Linked DNA regions of Homo sapiens: regions 1, 2 and 3 are each linked to region 4. The links are contacts of gene promoters, found by promoter capture Hi-C in human tissues and cell types (Jung and others, 2019). All regions are on one chromosome and are shown on one strand. The core of a region is centred on a gene start or on the middle of the fragment in contact, and the rest is flanking DNA. Distances in the headings are between cores, read along the strand shown.

The links. Contacts are between HindIII fragments. The study calls those that stand out against the background at their distance.
Region 1: a contact is called between a fragment that was not itself captured here and the fragment with the promoter of OTOP1 in region 4, in 1 of the 25 tissues and cell types used here (thymus).
Region 2: a contact is called between a fragment that was not itself captured here and the fragment with the promoter of OTOP1 in region 4, in 3 of the 25 tissues and cell types used here (bladder, mesenchymal stem cells and thymus).
Region 3: a fragment that was not itself captured here is called in contact with the fragment with the promoter of OTOP1 in region 4 in 8 of the 25 tissues and cell types used here (H1 embryonic stem cells, aorta, dorsolateral prefrontal cortex and 5 more).

The regions. Positions count from the first base shown.
Region 1 is chr4:4,257,765-4,263,033 of GRCh38, forward strand. No RefSeq gene overlaps it. Among named protein-coding and RNA genes, the nearest start is that of TMEM128, 12 kb to the left of the region's middle. RefSeq lists an enhancer at 1,758-2,052. The HindIII fragment of the contact is 3,451 bases long and covers 344-3,794 here.
Region 2 is chr4:4,165,989-4,171,365 of GRCh38, forward strand. No RefSeq gene overlaps it. Among named protein-coding and RNA genes, the nearest start is that of OTOP1, 58 kb to the right of the region's middle. The HindIII fragment of the contact is 7,512 bases long and covers 1-5,377 here.
Region 3 is chr4:4,282,272-4,287,736 of GRCh38, forward strand. It overlaps LYAR (Ly1 antibody reactive), which reads right to left. Exons shown (of 10, transcript NM_017816.3): 2 at 4,248-4,301; 3 at 1,350-1,524. The coding sequence starts at 1,471. Among named protein-coding and RNA genes, the nearest start is that of LYAR, 5.2 kb to the right of the region's middle. The HindIII fragment of the contact is 5,768 bases long and covers 1-5,335 here.
Region 4 is chr4:4,224,148-4,229,971 of GRCh38, forward strand. OTOP1 (otopetrin 1) reads right to left here and starts at 2,782. Exons shown (of 6, transcript NM_177998.3): 1 at 2,315-2,782. The coding sequence starts at 2,717. RefSeq lists enhancers at 1,912-2,532, 3,154-3,774. The HindIII fragment of the contact is 12,453 bases long and covers 1,945-5,824 here.

The DNA.
Region 1 (5,269 bases), core at 819-3,318, 33 kb after region 4:
CATATGTTCATTGCAGCATTATTCAAAATAGCAAAGACTTGGAACCAACCCAAATGCCCATCAATGATAGACTGGAAAAAGAAAATGTGGTACATATACACCATGGAATACTATGCAGCCATCAAAAGGAACAAGAGAATATCCTCTGCAGGGACATGGATGAAGCTGAAAGCCATTATCCTCAGCAAACTAATGCAGAAACAGAAAACCAAACACCACATGTTCTCACTTACAAGTGGAAGCCGAACAATGAGAACACACGGACACAGAGAGGGGAACAACACACACTGGGGCCTACTGGAGGGCAGCGGTGGGGTTGGGGAGAACATTAGGGAAAGGAGCTAATGCATGCTGGGCTTCATACTTAGGTGATGGGATGATCTGTGCAGCAAACCACATGGCACATGTTTACCTATGCAACAAACGTACACATCCTGCACATGTACCCCAGAACGTATAAAAATAATTAAAAAAAAGAAAATCACAAACGTCAATGTGCAAACACATGTTTGAACACAGCGTATGAGGAAATCCCTCTGCCAACCTTAGAAAAATCAAAGTGTTGCCAGGAGCAGTGGCTCACGCCTGTAATCCCAGCACTTTGGGAGGCCAAGGCAGGTGGATCACCTGAGGTCAGGAGTTCGAGACCAGCCTGAACAACATGGAGAACCCCATCTCTACTAAAAATACAAAATTAGCCGGGCATGGTGGTGCATGCCGGTAATCCCAGCTACTCAGGAGCCTGAGGCAGAAGAACTGCTTGAACCCGGGAGGCAGGGGTTGTGGCTAGCCGAGACCGCGCCATTGCACTCCAGCCTCGGCAACAAGAGCAAAACTCTTTCTCAAAAAAAAAAGAAAGAAAGAAAGAAAGAAAGAAAGAAAAGAATAGACAAAGGAGAGAAACTGTCAGCCTTTCAAGACTGGCAACCGTGAGCAGAATGCCCAGCTGTGAGGGAAAGGACAACCATATTAGAATCCCAGCCTGGGTGCTGTGATGCGGCAAGAAGCAGACCTGACATTCAGGAACCGACACAGCACCTGGCACAAAGAGCCCCCAAGATACAGTAGCTAGGCCGGGCGCGGTGGCTCACGCCTGTAATCCCAGCAATTTGGGAGGCCGACGCGGGCAGATCACCTGAGGTCAGGAGTTCAAGACCAGCCTGGCCAACATGGCAAAACCCCGTCTCTACAAAACATACAAAAATTAGCCGGGCGTGGTGATGTGCCCTTGTAGTCCCAGCTACTCGGGAGTCTGAGTTACAAGAATCACTTGAACCTGGGAGGCAGAGGTTGCAGTGAGCTGATATCATGCCACTGTACTCCAGCCTGGGTGACAGTGAGACTCTGTCTCAAAAAAAAAAAAAAAAAAAAAAAAAAAAAAGATACAGTAGCTGCCATCATTACAATTGTCTTGAAGTTACTGCCTATCCCTATAGACCCACAACTCTCAAACTCATTCACACAGTAGAGTGCCAGGCACACTTTTGTAGAACATCATGAAATCTGGATAAATTAAGCAAAAAATAGCCAAGTGCTATAAATGTTTATGCCAGCTCTCCTAGCATCTAAATTAGAATCTCATGGCCACAGATGCCAAAAGGCTTAAGAGGTGTTACGCAGGGACACTAAAACTGAGAAATTCTATGACCTTAACTTTTTTCTGAAACCTGCAAGAGAGACTACCGTTTCAAGTTCAGCTGTATAATACCTCCCTGTTCAGTATAAAATCAGTCTGAGCGGGGCTATCCTATGACATTACTACTATAGTATCCTGATTCAAATTTGCTGCCAAATCCCCAAAGCCATGCTGTTAGCAACTGCTCAGTGGAACCGAATCTTTCCCTACCTTTGATCTACAATGGACAGAAGTCGGCCTGAGGTCACCGGGAAGGGAGGAGGGCAGCAAAGGTGGTATTTCAACAGCTCACAATACCCGCTCTGTGGCCAAACAAAGGCCTGACCTCCTGAGCGATGTGTGACCTTTAAACTCTGACAAACATATGTATTTACTCAGCAATTACAATTTAAACTACCCAAGGGGCAGTTTAATCACTTGTATCAGAGGGAATAAATTAAAGCTTCCCTAGATCCCATAACAGCAACAAGAAATGAAAGTAGCATTTGCACTCAAAAGAAAACAAAGAAACTTCTCTTTTCACCAGTACATACCATTTTTCTTTTTCTCAGAAATCGTCTGTGTTGTAATCGAGACAGACAGTGAGAAGCAGGGTCCAACCCCAAATTACAGAAGCTGTTAAATCTAATGATAAGTGAGCCGAGAGCAAGATCTCAAGTTTCTTAAATATGAAAAGGACAGGGGAAGGCAGATGCTATTCTTTAAGCTGGAAGAAATTACTGTTCCGTTTTATTTTTAACATCATCCAAGACTGAAATCCGCTGGGAAAATGGAGTCACCATTTTCCACAGTTTTATCATCCAGTGGTACCCGGTGACTTTGGTTGACAGCATCCAATAAGAGAGCTATTTTGAAAAGATAAACACAGAGATGGAAATGGGAGTAATACTAAATTTCGGTGCATTTTTTGGCAAAATAAATGCATATACCCTCAAATACTGAGGGTGGCAGTATAAACTGCTAAAAAGCCCTCTCAAAACTGGCTACATCTGTTAAAGCTGAAATATACCCTATGACTTAGTACTGCCACCTGTGGGCATATACTCAGTAGCAATGAGAAAGTGTATGTACACACTAGGAGATGAGGAGAAGATGTCATCGATTTCATGAGAAACCTAGCCACCCTGAAACAGCTGAACATTTTATTGATTGATTGATTGATTGATTGAGACAGAGTCTTGCTCTGTTGCCCAGGCTGGAGTACAGTGGCGTAATCTCTGCTCACTGCAACCTCTGCCTCCCTGATTCAAGCGATTCTCCAGCCTCAGCCTCCCAAGTAGCTGGGATTACAGGTGCGTGCCACCACACCCAGCTAATTTTTGTAATTTTAGTAGAGATGGGGTTTCATTATGTTGGCCAGGCTGGTCTTGAATTCCTGACCTCAAGTGATCCACCCGCCTCGGCCTCCCAGAGTGCTGGGATTACAGGCGTGAGCCACCGAGCCCTGCCTTTATTTTTATTTTTTGAGACAGGGTCTCACTCTCTCATTTAGGCTGGAATGCAGTGACATGATTAATGCTCACTGCAACCTCCAACTCCTGGGCTGAAACAATCCTCCCGCCTCAGCCTCTGGAGTTGCTGGGACTACAGGTGCTTATAGGCATGTGCCACCACACCTGGCTAATTTTTTTATTTTTTATTTTTTGTAGAGATGGGGTCTCGCTATGTTGCCCAGATTGCTTTTGAACTCCCGGGCTCAAGTGATTCTCCCGCCTCTGCCTCCCATAGCACTGGGATTACAGGCATGGGCCACCACACCAGTCTGTAAAATCCAACATTTCATCAAGAGATGAATCTCATGGAATGTTGGGTGAAAGAAGCAAGACACAAACAGATACATGCTGTGTGGTTTCATTTACATCAAGTTCAAAACCAGGCAAAACCAACCCATGCAGACAGAAGTAAGGTGGGCCGAATAGTCTGTTTCTTGATTTAGGTGTGGGCACTCTGTGAAACTCATGAAGCAGTACATTTACATTTTACATATGTATACTTCAATAGAAACCTGCATTAAAATATTAACTCATATAGGTTTGGCAGTCGTAGGATTGTGTCTTTGTTCAGAAAAATAGTTACACAGTAACTGTAAACTAGAGTGCTACTTCAAAAATTGAAGTGGATTTCTTCATTTAAATGCTGTATGGTTTGGCCTCGCTGATTCTTCTTTGCTGCAGTCCAGTCACTTAGAGAGCTTTGTGCATGAAAAAGTAAGGCGTCAGATCCTGTCTGTTGGGCCAGTGCCTCGGACAACCAATGGTAGACACTGCTCGGTCTGTGTACTTCCTGTACTTTAAGAGGAGATATTTTCAGACACCTACTATGTGCTACTTTGTGTACAGTATATCAATTTCACTCTATCTACCATAGAAAGTTGGTGTAAGAGAAAAACCCCTGAGGTTTAGAGATGCTAAGTAACCTGCCCACGCAGGGACCTTTGGCGAGTGAGATACAAAGCTCAGATTCAACCTTGAGTCTCATTCTGGCACATGGACCCTGTTTAGAACATGTCACCTCATACAGCCTGGGTGAAAATAGAGTGGCAGGAATATGGAAAGTGTCTTAAAACATCAAGCAGTTAATAGATAACAATTTAAATTCCAAGAATCAATCCGGGGGCCTTTAATAACCTTGTGCCCTCCATCCCCACCCAGGCAAAATTAAGCAGTCCTTCTCAGGCCCACGTTCTAACCAGCACACCTCATAACACTCCTTGTGTTGGCCTCAGTATTGTCTCTTCCTTCCTGAAGACCTCAGTGCCCGAGTACCCAGCCTAGATCTCAGCCCGGGTGGGCAATCTGGAATGATTTTATTAGTCCTTGTGACTTAGAATGGGTTCGATGATACAAGGGCTTGGTACAGAATTGCAGGCACAAAGGGCACTAGAGGACTGAGATCTCAACAAGTTTGTGAGGGAAGCAAAACTCAAGACACGTAAGACAATTTCCCAACACTATTCTTTATTTTATTTATTATTTATTTATTTATTTATTTTATTTTTTTGAGACAGAGTCTCACTCTGCTGCCCAGGCTGGAGTGCAGTGGCATGATCTTGGGTCACTGCAGCCTCTGCCTCCCAGGCTCAAGTGATCCTCCCAAGTAGCTGGGAGGACTACAGGCGTGAGCCACCACACCAGGCAGATTTTTGTATATTTTTGTAGAGTCGGCGTCTTGCTACATTGCCCAGGCTAGTCTTGAACTCCTGGGCTCAAGCGATCCACCCGCCTCAGCCTTCCAAAGTGTTGAGATTATAGTAATAGGTGTGAGCCACTGCCAGCCTACCATGTGAAATCCCACCACATGCTTATGACCAGTACTTCCTCTTACAAAATGGAAAAGGCCGGGCGGGCGCGGTGGCTCATGCCTGTAATCCCGGCACTTTGGAAGGCCGAGGCAGGTGGATCACGAGGTCAGGAGATCGAGACCATCCTGGCTAACACAGTGAAACCCCGTCTCTACTAAAAATACAAAAAAATTAGCCGGGCATGGTGCCGAGCACCTGTAGTCTCAGCTACTCGGGAGGCTGAGGCAGGAGAACGGCGTGAACCCGGGAGGCAGAGCTTGCAGTGAGCTGAGATCGCGCCACTGCACTCCAGCCTGGGTGACAGAGCGAGACTCTGTCTCAAAAACAAACAA
Region 2 (5,377 bases), core at 2,032-4,531, 58 kb before region 4:
TTTTCAGAGGGAGAGAGGATGATATTACTCCCAGGACCGCTGGGGGTTTCCACAGCCCTGTGATACTCTTCCTAATATCCACAGGGAGAGAGGATGATATGACTCCCAATATCGCAGGGGGGGTACAGAACCCTGTGATATTGTTCCTAATATCCCGAGCGAAAGAGGATTATATGACTCTCAATATCGCAGAGGGTGTACACCCCTCCTGTAATATTGTTCTGATTACCGTGGGAGGCAGAGGATAAGGTTACGTTGAATGTCGCAGGGAATGTACACCCTCCCCCTCTGATACCCTTCCTAATGTCCAGGGGAAGAGAGGAAAATTTCACTCCCAATATCACAGAGGCAGTACACCCCACCTGTGATATTTTTCCCAGTATGCAAGGGGAGAGGATGATACTACTCTCAATATCGCAGGGCTGTTCACATCCCCAGGGACATTTTTTCCTAATATCTATGGGAGAGAGAATTATATGACAGCAAAGGTCGCAGGGTCTGTACATCCCTTCCTGATATTGTTCCTAATATCCAGGGGGAAAGAGGATGATATCAAACATGAAAGGGGGTGTACATCCCCCACACCTACGATATTGTTCTTAATAATCGTGAGGGGAGAGGATAATATTACTCCAGATATCCCAGGGATTGTTCACCCTTTTGTGTTTTTGTGCCCAATATCCAGGAAAATAGAGGATGATGTTACTCCCAATGTCGAAGTAATTGTACAGCACCCCTGTGATATTCTCCCTAATATCCAGAAAGGAAAAGAATGATATTACTCGCAACAGCGTAGGAAATGTATACCCGCGCTGTGTTATCTTTCCCAGTATCCAGGTGGAGAGAGGATCATATTACTTCCCATGTCGCAGGGTGTGTACACCCCCTCTGTGATTTCGTTGCTAACTTCCAGGTTTGGGGAGGAAGACCCAGATCTCCACCCACCCAGAGTAGGTGCGCCCAAGAACTAGTACATACTTGTTACCTCCACACTTTGGCATCTCTGTGAAGTCCACCTGGAAACCTTCAAAGGGGGCTGCTCCGTAAGCTCGTATGCCGGGCGGAACGGCTGGACCTTGCCTCCCATCATGCTGTCGGCAGGTAACACACCGCTGCCTCACCGTTTTGGCAAGGGCTGACAAAGGTGAGATGTAGAAATACCGGCCTAACAACTTTTCCAGTGACTCCTGACCCCGATGGGTGGTTTCTTGCACAGCCAGTACAACTGCAGCTCCTAGCAGCTCTGGCGCAGCTACTCTCCCATCTGGTAACCGAATCCATCCTTCCTCCATCAGTTGTCCTTCCCTCTACCTGGAGAAAGTCCTTTTCTTCTTTAGAAGAAGTAGGTCCAAGATCAGGTGCTTGAGGGAGCACTGATGCCCCGAAGGGGGCAGATGCTGCTTTTCGAGCCTCTGAGTCAGCGCGGGAATTCCCCAAGCCCACCAAGGTGGAAGCTTGCTGGTGTCCCCTGCAATGCATAACTGCCACCTTGCGGGGTTTCCATACTGCTTCTAATCATTGCAAAATTTCTTGTTGATATTTTCTGTCTTTTCTGCCAGAGTTCAATAGGCTCTGTTCTTTCTATCATGCTCCATGCACTTGAAGGGTTCAAAAGACATACCGAGAATCAGTGTAAATGTTGACAGTCTCACCCTCACTGAGTTCTAAGGCCCGAATGAAAGCAATGAGTTCAGCTTTCTGGGCTGACGTGGCCTGGGGCAATGATCTGTCTTCATCAACAGTGTCCAGGGTTATCACTGCATACCCTGCACCTCTCTCTCCTTGGGGGTTGAAGAAGCTACTCCCATCCACGTATAGTTCCCAGTCTACTGATTCCTAAGGCTGGCCCCGGAGGTCAAGTCTGCTAGAGTCAACTGTGTCCAACACTTCTACACAACCAGGCTCGACAGGGCTCTCTGATACCGGGAGCAAGGTGGTGGGGTGTAGGCTGTTACAAACTTCAATGGTTATACGGGGATTTTCACAGAGCCAAGCATGGTACTGGGTGAGTGTGGCATTCATTAGCCAATGATGTCCTTTAGTATTCATTAAAGTCACCACAGCACAGGAGGCCTTCATTTTCAGGTTTTGCCCAAGAGTCAGCTTATTTGCTTCTTGTACTCGCAGGGCGGTTGCTGCCAAGGCCCTCCAACAGGGGGACCATCCTTTAGTAACCCCGTTTAGTTGTTGAGAGAGGTAGACCACCGGCCTCGGCCAGGGCCCCACAGTTTGTGTTCAAAGTCCAGCAGCCATCTTTTCTCTCTCTGATGCACACAATGGAGAAGGCTTTGTCAGATCGGGTAGCCCCAGGGCTGGGGCTGCCAGAAGTTTTTCCTTTAACTCATGAAAGCCTTGCTGTTGTTGGGATCCGCATTCCAAAGGTTCCCAGTCCCCGCCCCCTTGGTGACCTCATACAAAGTCTTGGCTAATACTGCAAAGTTTGGGATCCACAGTTTACAAAACCCCACAGCTCCTAAGAATTCTCTCACCTGCCTTCTGCTCTTAGGCTCCGCTAGATTGCAAATGACCTGCTTTCATTCTGATCCCGGGCTGCGTTCCCACCCCTATCGGATAGCAAATCCCAAGTAATGTACATGTTGTCGGCAGATCTGAGCTTTCTTCTTGGACACTTGATACCCACACTCCTCCAGGTGCCGGTGTAGGGCATCTGTTCCCTTGGCACACCCGACTGCCGTGGGGTGTCCCAGCAGAAGGTCATCAACCTACTGGAGCAACACGCAGCCTAGGTCTCTGCTGGGAAACCTCTGGAGGTCTCGAGCCCACGCCTCCCCGAAGATGGTGGGGGAGTTCTTGAACCCTTGGGGAAAGTTGGTCCAAGTGTACTGAGTAGTGACACCTGACTCCGGATCTTCCCACTGAAAGGCAAACAGCTTCTGCCTCTCTGGGGCTAATCTGATAGGAAAGAAAGGGTCTTTCGGGTCCAAGCAGGTGAACCCGCTGTCCTCAGCTGGCAGCAACCCCAACAATGTGGACGGGTTAGGTACTGTTGGATGTAAAGTCAGTGTAGCTTGATGAAGCAAGCGCAAATCCTGTACCGGCAGGTAGTCCTTGGTCGGTGGCTTGGTAACAGGCAGGAGGGGAGTGTTGCATGGAGACTGACAAGGAACAATAATTCCAAAAGTTCTTAGGTGCTTGAGACGGACCTGGATACCTTGAAGGGCTTCTCTGGGGATCGGGTCCTGTTTTTGCCTCACCGGCTGGGCCCCAGTCTTAACCGGCCAATCCTGGAGGGTTGTCTTCTGCCCGTACTCTTGGCCACCGCTTAGCCAGAGCTGGTCTTCTCTCTTGGCCCGGCTCAGTTAAGAAAAGTCTCCATTCCTCCTCTCGGGGGACCTTAAGCATCATAATGACTCCCGTTCCGGGTAACTTGAGCAGCAAAGAGCCGTGCTCTGTCAAAGAGATAGTGGCTCTCAGCTTGCTGAGCAAGTCCCTTCCCAAAAAGGTCGAGGGACAGTCACGCATGTACCAAAACTGTTGAATGACTCTGTGTCTTCCTACAGTACAAGTCCGGGACAAGCAGAAAGCTTGCTTTCCTGAAACCCCCGTGACTCCGATGATGTCAATAGTCTTTCTGCAAAAGGGGGTGACCGTGGCGGTTACTAGCGAATGTTCAGCACCGCTATCTACAAGAAAATCAATGTCTTTACCCCCGACTGTCATTCTGACCAGAGACTCTTTGGGGACAGTTGAGCCCGGTCTCCCTCAGTCCAATAACCCTTCTGCCAGGTTGAGCCGGGCCCCTTCCTTCTTTCTGGGGCCTCCTGCTCGGAGTCACCTTGTTTTCTTTTGAGCTCAGGGCATTTGTTCTTCCACTGTCCTATTTCTTTACAATGAGCACACTGGTTACGCTGCAAACTCTGACAGCCAAGCTGAGTTTCTTTCCCAGGACCCCCCTTCCCTTGCCTCTTTGGGGGGGCCCCTCTGATTGCTGCAGCTGACAAACAGGTCATCGTGTCGCCGGGCCTGACTTCCATTCTCTTTGCTGTTTTCCTTAGGGCTTACTGCATCCCTGTTTACAAACACCTGGCTAGCTATTTCTAGTAATTAGCTAGCAGTAACAGCTAATTCTAGCCTGTTTCTGCAGTTTTCTTCTCATGTCTTCTGCGCTTTGACGGACTAAAGCCATGTGAATCATACGCTGATTTTCAGGGCTATCGGGATCAAAGGGAGTATACATACGATAGGCCTCACACAGTCTCTCGTAGAATTGTGCTGGACTTTCCTCTTTTCCCTGAATGACCTCAGAGACCTTGTTAACGTTTGTGGCCTTCTGAGCTCCCCTCATTAATATTTCCAAGAGAGCTTCCTTGTCTCAGTTTAGCCTTTGAATCTCCTCTCTTTCATGTGGGTCCAAATGGGGTCGGTTCCTGACACCTGGGTCCTTCCATACTCTTGGGGGTTTTGATAATCAGCTGGTGCATGTTCTTCTAGCCACTTAGTTACTGCTTGGAGGACTCTCCGCCTTTCTTCGCTGTTAAAGAGGAACATGAGCAACTGGTGCCAATCAGCCAAGGTGGGGTTGTGGGTCTGGATAACAGCTTGGAGAAAATCAATTAGGGCTTGTGGCTTTTCGGTATAGTTCTGTGTATTGTTTTTCCAGTTGAGAAGGTTGACGCAGGTGATGGGCTGGTAGCCAAAAGCACGCCTCTCCACCAAGTGACCATCCTTATCTATCCCAGTATACCGCTGCTCTCTCAGGGGCATTTGTGTCCCCGTTTTGGGTCGTAAACGAGCTGCGGAGGGAGGGTGGAATGGTGCAACGTGACTTACCACAATTAATAATCTCAATTATTAATTGACACTAATTATCAATATTAATAACTGATAATATAATTTTTAAAATCAATACCGATAATAAGGATAATTAATATTAGTTATACTAATGATAACAGTAAATGATTAATATTAATGATTAATGATGCCTGATATTAATAACTGATATTGATCTTATTCATTAGAAATATTAGCTACAAATAATTAATATTAATATTAATAATCTGAAAATATTATATTAGCAATTATTTCTTAATATTAATATTAATACCTGTCATTCATATTCATGATAATAATAAATGAGGAATAATTCATACTAATATTACGCCTAATAACTCAGTGGGTGTACACCCACCTGTGTTATTGCTTCTAATGTCCAGGGAGGGAGAGAGCATGATATTACGTTCAATATCGCAGTAGGTGTACACCCAGCCGGTGATATTGATCAGAATATAATCTCCAGGGGGTGGAGTATGACGTTACTCCCAATATAGCACTGGGTCTGCATCTACCCCGTGATATTGCTCCTAATATTCACGGAAGAAGCATCTGATATTACTCCCAATATCGCAGGAAGTGTACA
Region 3 (5,465 bases), core at 1,202-3,701, 58 kb after region 4:
AATTAGTTGTAGAATAAATCAAAAACAGATATAAAATGGCAGCATGAGGTTACCAACAGTTCTGGATCCCTTAGGGTCCTGAGAAAAAAGAAAACTAAATTCTCTCTCATATAATCTTTGTAAAGCTCTATGGGGTTCTTCAGGGAAATGTTGGGGACAAGGTCCAGGGCAAAGTCCCCTAATGAAAACTCAATTTTAACCTACTTTATATATCAAGCTTCCTCCTAGGATTACGTCTGAACAGAGGTTAGCAGTTTCCAAAAAAAATCACTGCTCCAGAATGAATTAAAAGAGAGTATTAGCCAGTACCATCCGAATGCCTCAGAGGACACTGGGGCAGATGCAGCCAGAAGCCAGCTTCTCGCCTGGACCTTCTGAGGCTGAAGGGGAATCAACATGAAATTCAAGAGGGGAGCCCTCTGCAAACGACCCACCTGAAGAACCGGTGTCTAAGGCAGGATCTGTCCTGTCCCTCCCCGCTAACTCCTCACATTCACAGAGGCCTCCTCAGTGGAAGTGTCTCCTGACACACCCGTGGGGCCAGGAAGAGCCTCACTTCCACCAGCACCTCTGATTTTCTAGGGAGGACATAGTTTCCTCTGCTACCAGTCATCTGCCCCACTGTGAGCTCATAAATTCACTTTCTGGTTCATAAGTCCATCTCTCCACTGTGATGGGCATGTGATACCCATGGTCTAATGAAACTGGCTCTAAACCCCTGGAGCCATCTTCCACGCAGTTAGTTCCCTGGGTCTGTAAACAGTGGCAATGCAATAGCAACCAGTGTCACCAACTGACTGAACACTCTAATCATCATAATTCCCCTTCCCCTAGTCTTTTCTTTAACATATCCTCAAAAAGCAAATTGTTTCGTAAAGCACATTTCTCCCCCCCAAGAAGGGGTTAACTTGCTCTGTTGCCCAGGCTGGAGTGCAGTGGTGAAATCTCGGCTCACCGCAACCTCTGCCTCCTGGGTTCAAGCGATTCTCCTGCCTCAGCCTCCCGAGTAGCTGGGATTACAGGCGCCCACCACCACGCCTGACTAATTTTTGTATTTTTAGTAGAGACAGGGTTTCACTATGTTGGCCAGGCTGGTCTTCAACTCCTGACCTCATGAGCCACCCACCTTGGCCTCCCAAAGTGCTGGGATTACAGGCCTGAGCCACTGCGCCCGGCCTAGTAAAGCACATTTGAAAGAATCACACCAGTTTTAATCAATGGAACATACCAGTTTTTAGTCTTAATTTCATTCTTCAAATTTGCCACTATTTTTCCAAGCTTTGTGGCGCCAAGGCTTCCAAAACTGATCTGGATTTACTATGGATCTACATGAATTCTGTGAAGCTTACCAGAAATCTTTACCGCAGTCAATGCAAGAAAGGCATTCACAGTTTCTGCAAACAGACACATGCTTTTCCACTTGTATTTTCTTCACTGATTCACCACATGCATTGCATGTAAAAAATACCATTTTTAGGTAAATGGCTAAATATTCTCTATCCAAGACAGGTTTTAAGTCTTGTCCTAAGGAAAAAAAGACAATTATAATTATAAACTGAAACTTCTCATTTCAATAAATGGCTCATGCCCCTAACTTTTCAACCATAATTTCACATGAAAATAACAGAGTCAAAGTTGATTAGCAATCTACATAAAATTCCACCATTCATATAAGTAAAACTAACATTAACAATGAGAATGGCTAACATTTATTGTGTCCTTACCACGTGCCAGGCACTATTCTAGAGGCTTTACATTTATTCACTTATTCAATCCCCGCAGTAACCCTATGAGGGAAGGACTATTATTGTTCAAAATTTATATGAGGTAACTGAGACACAGAGATTACATAACTTGCCCAAGGATACACGGTTAACAGAACCAGGATTTAAACCTGGCAGATTGGCTCTCAAGATGAAGAGCTTTGAGGGTGTTAAATCTTACTTTCCATAATACCTTAAACTCTCTCTCTGTATATGAAACTTATAGAAGGCATTGCAATTTAGGTGTACACTACAAACTATTTCAGGTCCTCAAATATACTAAGAACACAGCAAGAGGAAAACTGAGTGAAGTTTAGAAAGTGAAGAAGAGGCAATTCTATGGGCACAATTTCTATGGCACTAAAAGCATTCATATCAATATTACTATATATCTACAAAGGTTAAAATGAGGACATGCGCCTCAGCTGTAATGGACAGGGGCCTTCTTCATGTGGCAGCTTGTCAGACAAGTCAGAAAGAAACGGAACCAAGTCCAGGTGTCCCAACTGCTGGGTGCTGAATTACTGGAGTTCACAAACCCAGGTGTCCCGAGCACTGCCCCAAAAAGAAGTATGTCTGCACACGCACATAAACATCATTGTAAAATTTCACAGAAATGCTACCGTGCTCAGGAAAACACAAATTCGTCTAGAAGTGTTAGAGAAGTCACAGTAATTTTCCATACTTACATAATTTTTAATCACTAGATTTTAAAACAGCATTGTTGTTTTACATTATAAGTTTTACAGCAAAAATACTGAGAACTGTTTAACCCAGAGCTTTCTTCCTCATTAGGAAAATAAAGGTGAGGGTCAAGTAAACCGATGCAATTTACTTCAGGGTAGGACTTCATCCAACAAGCTTTCAGTACAAATGATCTACCCTTGGTTTGCAGAGAATTCCCATGCATGAAATCACCGTTGCTCCTCCACCAGCATGTTTTGGATCACTGCCAGTGAGGCCACACCCAAGCAACGACCAAGGTTATTCATGTCCATTCAGCCTTGAATGGAAATGTACATCCTGGCTGCATCTCCAGGGTTCACAAAGGTCCAGCTGGTCTCTTGTGGAGGCCTCTTGCCCTGTGGGACACTATCAGACATCAGCTCAGCTTCTACGCTACATACAAACCACAGACCCCTGATTCCGCGGTCCCAGGCCCCGCTCCTCAGCTCACTATCAGTGTATGTTAGTAAACGGACAGCATGTGGTCAGCTACAACCTAGCACCAAATCCTCAGGAAGGAAAACATGACTACCCTCGATGTGCTGCAGCAACTGTCATCTTCTCATCTGCTTACTGTAAAGATGTGTGATATTGTCAAGCTCCTGGGAGCTGGAATCACGTTTCCCACAACCCAGCTCCCTCAAAGCTTACCATTCTAAAAAAAGGCAGAGGGATGATCAACATGTCAGGCAACAAGAGCAGCTATCCTGCCTGACAAGGGAGAACAAAGGCTGGAATAAGAGCCAACATCACATTCTCAAAGAGCATGGAGGTGCACTTTGGTGTAAGAGCAGGAATAACTTATTAGTCACCAAGAAATAGATTGTCATCACAGGCACAAGGTGAAAGCAGCCGTGATATGCCAAATTATCTGCTGAAAAACGTTAAAGCACTTTTCTAATAAGATACAACAACAAAAAACAGTCTCTGAAACTTAGATACGGCTTAGAGCTTGCCAACCTCTGTTGCTGAGGACAATTCTATTTCTGGATGGAGTGGGAGATGGGAGGAAGAAAGGTTTCGACAAGGCTTAAGAGTGAATTGAGAGATTCCTGTCCCAGCAGGAATTAAAGGCCTAGGAAGGAAGCTGGAAACAAAATATATTGACTGAAAGAAGCAGTGAAAGCAGTGATGTTGACAAAAAGATACTCAAGAGTAACTGTGCCAAACATTCTATCTCTCTGGAGATCGGCTACACACTACAGTGTAATTAAATATCAATTCAGAAGGTGATTAGAATCTGGTTACATGTCCAGCTAAAAAATAACTCTCACATCATTTTCATTTGGTCTTTACTTGTTTAAGGCCAAATGGGTGGATTGCACAGGAAGTCAGAACTGTCTCTTCCTGCCTTCCTCCGGATTTTTACACTTGCCATGAAATGGGAACAGCTCTGTGTCCACTTGCTTGGCTAATGAGCTAATGTCTGTAAGGAGCTTACCTCTCCTTTATTCAGAGCCTGGAGGACAGTCCAGCACCTTGATTACACCTCAAACCCAACCTAGCCCCAGGCGAAAATACCTGTAATTTATGCCATAAACACTTGCTTGGGCTTCAAAGAAAAGCTCAAAACCATCAGAAGCTTCAAAGTCAGCCTAACTGCACAGCAGACAGGGTGTCCCAGGTCTTAGTGCAGGCTTAATATTCGTAAGCGTAAATGCTACAAACTTACAAAAAGCCGTCAGGTGGAAATTCAGTCCCTCTAATGGAAGACAGCAAACATTGCCTAAAACAAAAATGTAAATACTACAAACTTACAAAAAGCCGTCATGTAGAAATTCAGTCACTCCAATGGAAGACAGCAAACATTGCCTAAAACAAAAAAGTAAAACGGTATTGTTCAAATTCCACAAGACTAGATAAGCATGAAGGAAATTTAATTAAACTTTTTTTTTTTTTTTTTGAGAAAGGAGTCTCGCTTTGTCGCCCAGGCTGGAGTGCAGTGGTGCATTCTTGGCTCACTGCAAGCTCCGCCTCCCGGGTTCATGCCATTCTCTTGCCTCAGCCTCCCGAGTAGCTGGGATTACAGGCATCCGCCACCACGCCCAGCTTATTTTTTGTATTTTTTAGTAGAGATAGATGGGGTTTCACCGTGTTAGCCAGGATGGTCTCAATCTCCTGACCTCGTGATCCGCCTGCCTCGGCCTCCCAAAGTGCTGGGATTACAGGCGTGAGCCACCGCGCCCGGCCTTAATTAAATTTTAAATGATGTTTTGGCAAGTTTGGATCATTTATGCTTCTGAAATTATGAAAGCTTAAAACTGCATTAAGATTTTGAGGACACCCAGTCTGCCGGGCTCAGATGTGACAGATTTCAACATCTAGCCCTAAGTGTAAAAAGACAGCAGTTTTTTCATGGGGCTGGATCTAAATAGAGTCCTCTTTTCCTTCCCTGGCTCCCCAACTCCCTCTGCCCAATGTCCAGTCCCAGCGCAGCCAGAGAGATTCTACATGCTTTCCTTCTGGCCACATGCGCATGTTAAAAGAGAAAGGCAGGCAGAAGGCAGTGTTCTTGGACTGGTTGAGAGCATACTTCGGTTCTTGCTCAGTCACTTTAACTCAATTCGGCAGACATTTCCTGAATGCTGACACTATCCTATCCACCCAGATACACCTGGGGCCCTCACGCAGGTCCTCTGCGTGTGCTCCTGGCTGCGTCTTCGTCTGTCTGTATGGTCAGTTTACTGAGCTCTCATCACATGCCATACCCATGAAAAAGATGACGGGGTCTGCACCATAGAACACATGATCATTAGCTCTCTACAAAGCCGTGTCCCATTTATGAACACAACTGCCCCCAATACCACTAAGACTGCTATGATCATACTACCTCCATCTGGAGAGAAAACCTAAGGCTCAGGAGGGTAAGTGAACTGCCCGAAGTCACAGTAAGTGGCAGAGGTGGCCTGAAAGACCAGGCAGCAAGCCCAGGCTCCCACCCTGCCTCCATCTTGACCTGCCATGTCCTAGCCGTTT
Region 4 (5,824 bases), core at 1,532-4,031:
ACCAGTCTGGCCAACATGATGAAACCCCGTCTCTACTAAAGATACAAAAAATAGCTGGGCATAGTTGCAGGCGCCTATAATCCCAGCTACTTGGGAGGCTGAGGCAGGAGAATCGTTTGAACCCGGGAGGTGGAGGTTGCAGTGAGCCGAGATCGCACCATTGCACTCCAGCCTGGGCGACAGGGCAAGACTCCATCTCAAAAAAAAAAAATAAAGAAGGAAAGGCAGAGAGGAGGGAAGGCGAGGGAATAGGGAGGGAGGGAGGAGGAAGAAAGGAAAGGAGAAGGAGGGAAGGAAGAAGGGAGAAAAAAGGATGGAGGAGAGAAAGAAGGAACAAAAAAGGGGCTTTGACTATAGGAAAACACAGGTAAAGGCTCATGTGTATAATACTTTTTAGCCTGTGTAAGTCAATATCCTAAAATAACACTTTGTGCCTTGTTTTAAATAGCACCAGATTCACTGTCATTCACAGAGTCACAAAACCATTAACTTCCCTAAAACAACCATTTTCAGAACAGGAATTTGGGCCACGCTGCAATGGTGTCAAATTTCCCCAAAAGCAAGATGAACTAGATCCAGTCCCTGAGCCTAAGAAGTCTAAAATCTCTTCTGGATGGTAAGGCTAATATCCAACAGTCATAATACAAGGCAGAAACGGACAAGGACCAAAAGAGCTTTACAGAAAGGGGGCCATGGTGGCCCATAGAAGTGAGGAGTAATTCCTGCCAGGCATTTGTGAAGAAGGTGGCATCTGGCCAGGACCTTTGAAAGAAATGTGGAAAGGAGGCCTAGTGTGTGCTGGGCAGCCACCTCATCAGTCACTGGATCTTATCCAGTTTGAGATCCCCATTCTACAGATGCTGAAACCAGGGTTCAGGGTAAGGAAGGCAATCAGGTAACTTGCCCAAGGTCATGCATGCAAGGAACACGGAAGCCCCACTCTAATGGAGATTTAAATTCAGGTCTAATATGAGAGTCCAAGTGGCAATGTGTGATGTGCCTGGACCACGTGGTGTGAAATGCACTTGGCCTCTCCTGGGAAGGTTACTCAGACAGAAGCTTTCTTCACAAGCATGCTCCCCATGGCCTCCTCCCTTTCACCTGCACCATGTCTGTCTCCCATTCAAGACTGGCAGCCCCAGCCAGGCACAGTGGTTCATGCCTGTGATCCCAGCATTTTGGGAGGCCAAGGCAGGAGGATCCCTGGAGGCCAGGAGTTTGAGAAAAGGAGACAACACAACGAGGCCCTATCTGTACAAAATATAACAAAACTTAGCTGGGCAAGGCCATGTGTGTCTATAGTTCCAGCTATTCAGGAGGCTGAAGTGGGAGGATTGCTTGAGCCCAGGAGGAAGAGGCTGTAGTGAGCTGTGATTGTGCCACTGCACTCCAGCCTGGGAGATAGAGCAACATTGTCTCAAAAAAAAAAAAAAAAATGTGGCAGCCCCTTGAGGAAGAAAGAGCTCCTATCTTGACAATTTCAGCCAATGCCTGTGAGTACCAGCAGGAGCCTCTATCCCTCTTTGCCCCACCCTGCATCCACGCATTCATTATTTCATTCATACCCCCTCATTTTCTCAACACCCACTTCGTGCCAGGCCCTGAGGTGGCTCTAGGACCGAGAGACAGGGATCACAGAGCTCCCCAGTGGAGTGGAGGGTACAGACATGTTGACAAGAACACTGGAGCCCAGTGCGGGCTGGGGGCATGTGGTCAGACCTGCAAAGCCGGGAGGAGAAGGGGGTCGGAGAAGCTTCGCGGGGAGAATGGGGTGAGGCCTGAGCCCTGTCTCGGAAAGCAGAGGGGCAGGTGGGAAAGTGGAAAAGACATTCCTGGAGGAGAGAACCGAAGGTGCCGAATGTGCAGAGGCAGAGGTCCTGCGATGGGCGAGAAAGTTCGCGAGAATGACCCCAGCACAGGATGAGAACAAAGGAGGGGATCAAAGGAAACGGGCCCTCGGGGGCCGAGTGCTAGAAGGCTCTGAGTGTCAGGAGAGGGAGCGTGGCCTCCATCATGGGGTCAGTAGGGCCACTGCATGGCTTTAAGTCAGGGAAGGACAAGAGAGGTTTCTGTAACTGTGGCTGTAATGATGGAAGCGTCTGGAGGCGGAGAGGAGGCTCCTGCGGCGACCCAAGCTTCAGAGAGAGAGAGAGGAAAGGAAGGGCAGACAGGAAAGCTAGGAAAGATGCACAGAGAGACCAAGGCAGAAAAGGCTGAAGGGAAGACGGCAGCGGTAGGAAGGGCGCAGAGCAGCCTCAGGATGCAGCCAGCGGGCGAGGAGGCGGAGACCCGCTCGCCCGGCGCCTGGACTCACCGCGCAGCCAGCCGGCACCCGCGTGCGTGTCCTTGAGGCGGAAGAGGCGGCGGTGCGCGGAGCTGCGGCCCACGTACCACAGCATCCACAGCAGCTGCAGCAGCATGAGCGCCGTCAGGAAGCACAGCAGGTCGCTCTTGCTCACGCCCGCGGCGTGCACGGCCCAGGCCAGCAGCAGCAGCAGCCCCGCCACGAACACGATCAGCCCATACTGGCTGCTCAGCATCTCGGCCAGTTTCTGTGGGACGCTGGCGCGCACACCGCCCCGCCGGGGGGCCGGGGATTCCGGGGACCTCGGGGCCGAGGACGAGGGAGGCGAGCAGGCCGCTGGCCCCGACGACCCTGCGACCGAGGCGCTTGCAGCTGCCCGGGGCGAGGCGGGCGACCCCAGGCCCTCGAGCATCTTCGAGACACCCGCGCCAAGTCTGGTCCCGGGGGTGGCTGCCGTCGGGCCCCGCCTGCGCTCCTGGCTCCTGTCCTTGCCCCGACGCCTCTGCCAACCAGCACCTCCCTTTTCAACTCCCTTCCGATTCCTACCCCACGCCCCTGCCAACCTGCCCCCTCTCCTGTCACCTCCCGACGCCCGCCCTCCCCTCTTCTGCCCCTTCGTCCTCCGTCAAGGTACCACCCTGTCCACTTACCCAGCGCCCCACCCTGCTGACCTGGGATTCTACGAGCTCCCTTGCCCGCTGCCCCTCACTGGGCAACGCCCGGGGCAGCCATCTGCCCCCTCCGGGACCCACGCGGACAGCTCCCCGCTCCTGATCCCTGGGACACTGGCCAGCCCTGCCGCGACACTAGCGCGTCCTCCCGCACCTCCGCCCGCGCGCCCGGCCCCCGCCCGCCGTCTGCAGCCCTCACCCCTGAGCCGACGCCCGCCCACCCAGCCCCTGTCCGGGCGCCCCGGAAACGCTGGGTGACAAGAAGTGCCTGCCGGGGTCCCGGGGTTGCGGGACTGGGGAGAGGGGGTCTCCCGGAGCCAGCCCGAGGGGGGTGTGCGCGGGGGGCGTGGCTGCTGCCAAGCGGGGCGTCCGGGGCTCCACAGGGGCTTGCGATGCTCCGGGCCTTCCCCGAGGGTCTCCGTTGGGGAACCCAGAGGTCCAGGGGATCCTGCCTGCGTCCGTGTCCGAGCGTCCGACGGTCTGTACTCGTCCCTGCGTATTTCTGTATTGTCTTCTCTGTGCGGGTCACTCTGTGTCTGGCCGTCTGTTATCGGGTGTGTCTGGTTAGGGGTGGAGGAGCGCCCGTCACTGGCTCTCTGAATTGGGGGAGGGGCCGCCTTCTGTGGGTTTTTCTGTTTGTCCGTCTGGTGTGCCTGTGTGTCGGCTGCGAGATGCCCAGGCGCAGAATAAGACCTGAGCCACTTTCTAAGAAAAGAGACCATCCCGCACCCTCCCCCAAAGGAGCGGCAGCCGTTCTGGACCCAGAGGAGCTGGAATGAGGGACGCCCCGGGGTCTGCCCTGTTGCTACCGGCGCCCAAGCGTCTTCACTAGCCCCTTCCAAAGCCCCGGTGCCCGCCTGGCACCCGCCTGCTCCCGGAAGGGGACTGAGTCTGCCAGGGAGCCCCGCTCGGGTGCCGCTAAGTGGAGGTCTGGGAAGTTTCAGCTGAAGAGCGTTCTACGGGTCTGGCGTGGCTGACAGGAGGCGCCGGACCCCAGCCCCCCAGCCGCAGGTTGGAGAGGGGAGTTGGGAGCGAGCCTGGGGCAAGCCCACATCCCACCGTGCAGCAGCCCGGGGCTGGGCCCGGAAGACACCCTCTCGCTCTTGGTTTAAGGTTCTTGCCGTCTTGAAATTCTTAATTTTTGAACAAGAGGGCCCATGTTTTTGTTTTGCGCTAAGCGCAGCAAATTGCAATAGCAGGTCCTGACTAGTAAAGGAGGGGTGGGGAGTCCTGGGCTAGCAAGGAGTCAACCTGGGGGACCTTACCTTGCCACCATCATTCTTCCAATTCACGCATTCATGCATTTGATCAACACATATGTATGTGTTGACCTATGAATCATTTGCTGCTCTCTGTTCTAGCAGCTGGGTTTTCAGCTATGAAAGGCTCTGCTCAGGTGGAGCTGATGTTCAGGTAGAGAAACAGCAATAAACAAACAGCTAATGAGCCCTCACTGGGAAGCTGGGGATCATGACCTGTGAGACTTAGCCCTCAACTTCTAAGAGCTTGGGAGTGGGGACAGAGTAAGCAGCACAACACCCTTGAGCAGGGCTACAACCAGGGGCCTGGGAGGAGTCCAGGTCTGCAGGAAGGCTGAGAGGTTCAGGGAGGAGGCAACACCTGCACAGTCTTCTTTCTTTCTTTCTTTCTCTTATTTTTATCTTTTAATAAGGACAGGGTCTCCCTGTGTCTCCCAGGCTGGAATGAAGTGGTGTGATTATGGCTCACTACAGCCTCGAATTCTGGGGCTCAAGTGCTCCTCCCGCCTCAGCCTCCCGAATAGCTGGGACTACAGGTGTGTGCTACCACGCCTGGCTCATTTTTTTTAAATTGTTTTTTTGTAGAGACGGGTCTCACTATGTTGCTCAGGTTGATCTCAAACTCCTGGGCTCAAGCCATCCTCCTACCTCAGCCTCCCAAAGCACTGGGATCACAGGCTCCAGCTACCACGTCCAGCCTCCTGCACATTCTTTAGGCTTAGGAGTGGATGGTCAGGCGGAAGGGAGCAGGGGTCTGGAAAGGCAATCCAGAGAGAAGATCCAGCAAACCTACTAGGGACCCTCCACCTTCTCCCCTCCTCTTCCTACCAACAGCCAGAGCAACCTGGGAGCCTGAGCTGAAGATGGAAGAGCCTGTCTGCGTGTCTCCCCAGTGACTAGTGAGGCGGCTTTTCCTCCCGAAGCTGGACCTTACATCAGTGAGAAATAAACTTCCATTGTGCTAAGCCACCAAAGTCTGAAATGTTACAGCAGCTAGCAGTACCTTAACCCGTTGAGTACAAAGATAAATAAAGCTCAGTCACCATCTGAAAATCAAGTGGAATGCCTGTCTCTGGGCTACCTGCACTTTTTTGTTTGTTTGTTTGGTTGGTTGGTTGGTTTTTTGAGATGGAGTCTCACTCTGTTACCCAAGCTGGAGTGCAGTGGCACAATCATCTCAGCTCACTGCAACCTCTGCCTCCTGAGTTCAAGCGATTCTCCTGCCTCAGCCTCCCGAGTAGCTGGGATTACAGGCGCCTGCCACCATGCCCGGCTAATTTCTGTATTTTTAGTAGAGGTGCGGTTTCCCCATGCTGGCTAGCCTGGTCTTAACTCCTGACCTCGTGATCCACCCCTTGGCCTCCCAAAGTGCTGGAATTACCAGCATGAGCCACCCCACCTGGCCTGCATTTTTTTAAGAAGCAATGAAATGAAAGTTTCTGGAGGCTAAAGTCAGCCCCCTTTATTGTAATCTCAAGACAATGTTAAAACTCACTGAGAGCCTGTAATCCCAGCACTTTGGGAGGTCGAGGCAGATCACTTGAGGTCAGGAGTTCGAGACTAGCCTGGCCAACATGGTGAAACACCGT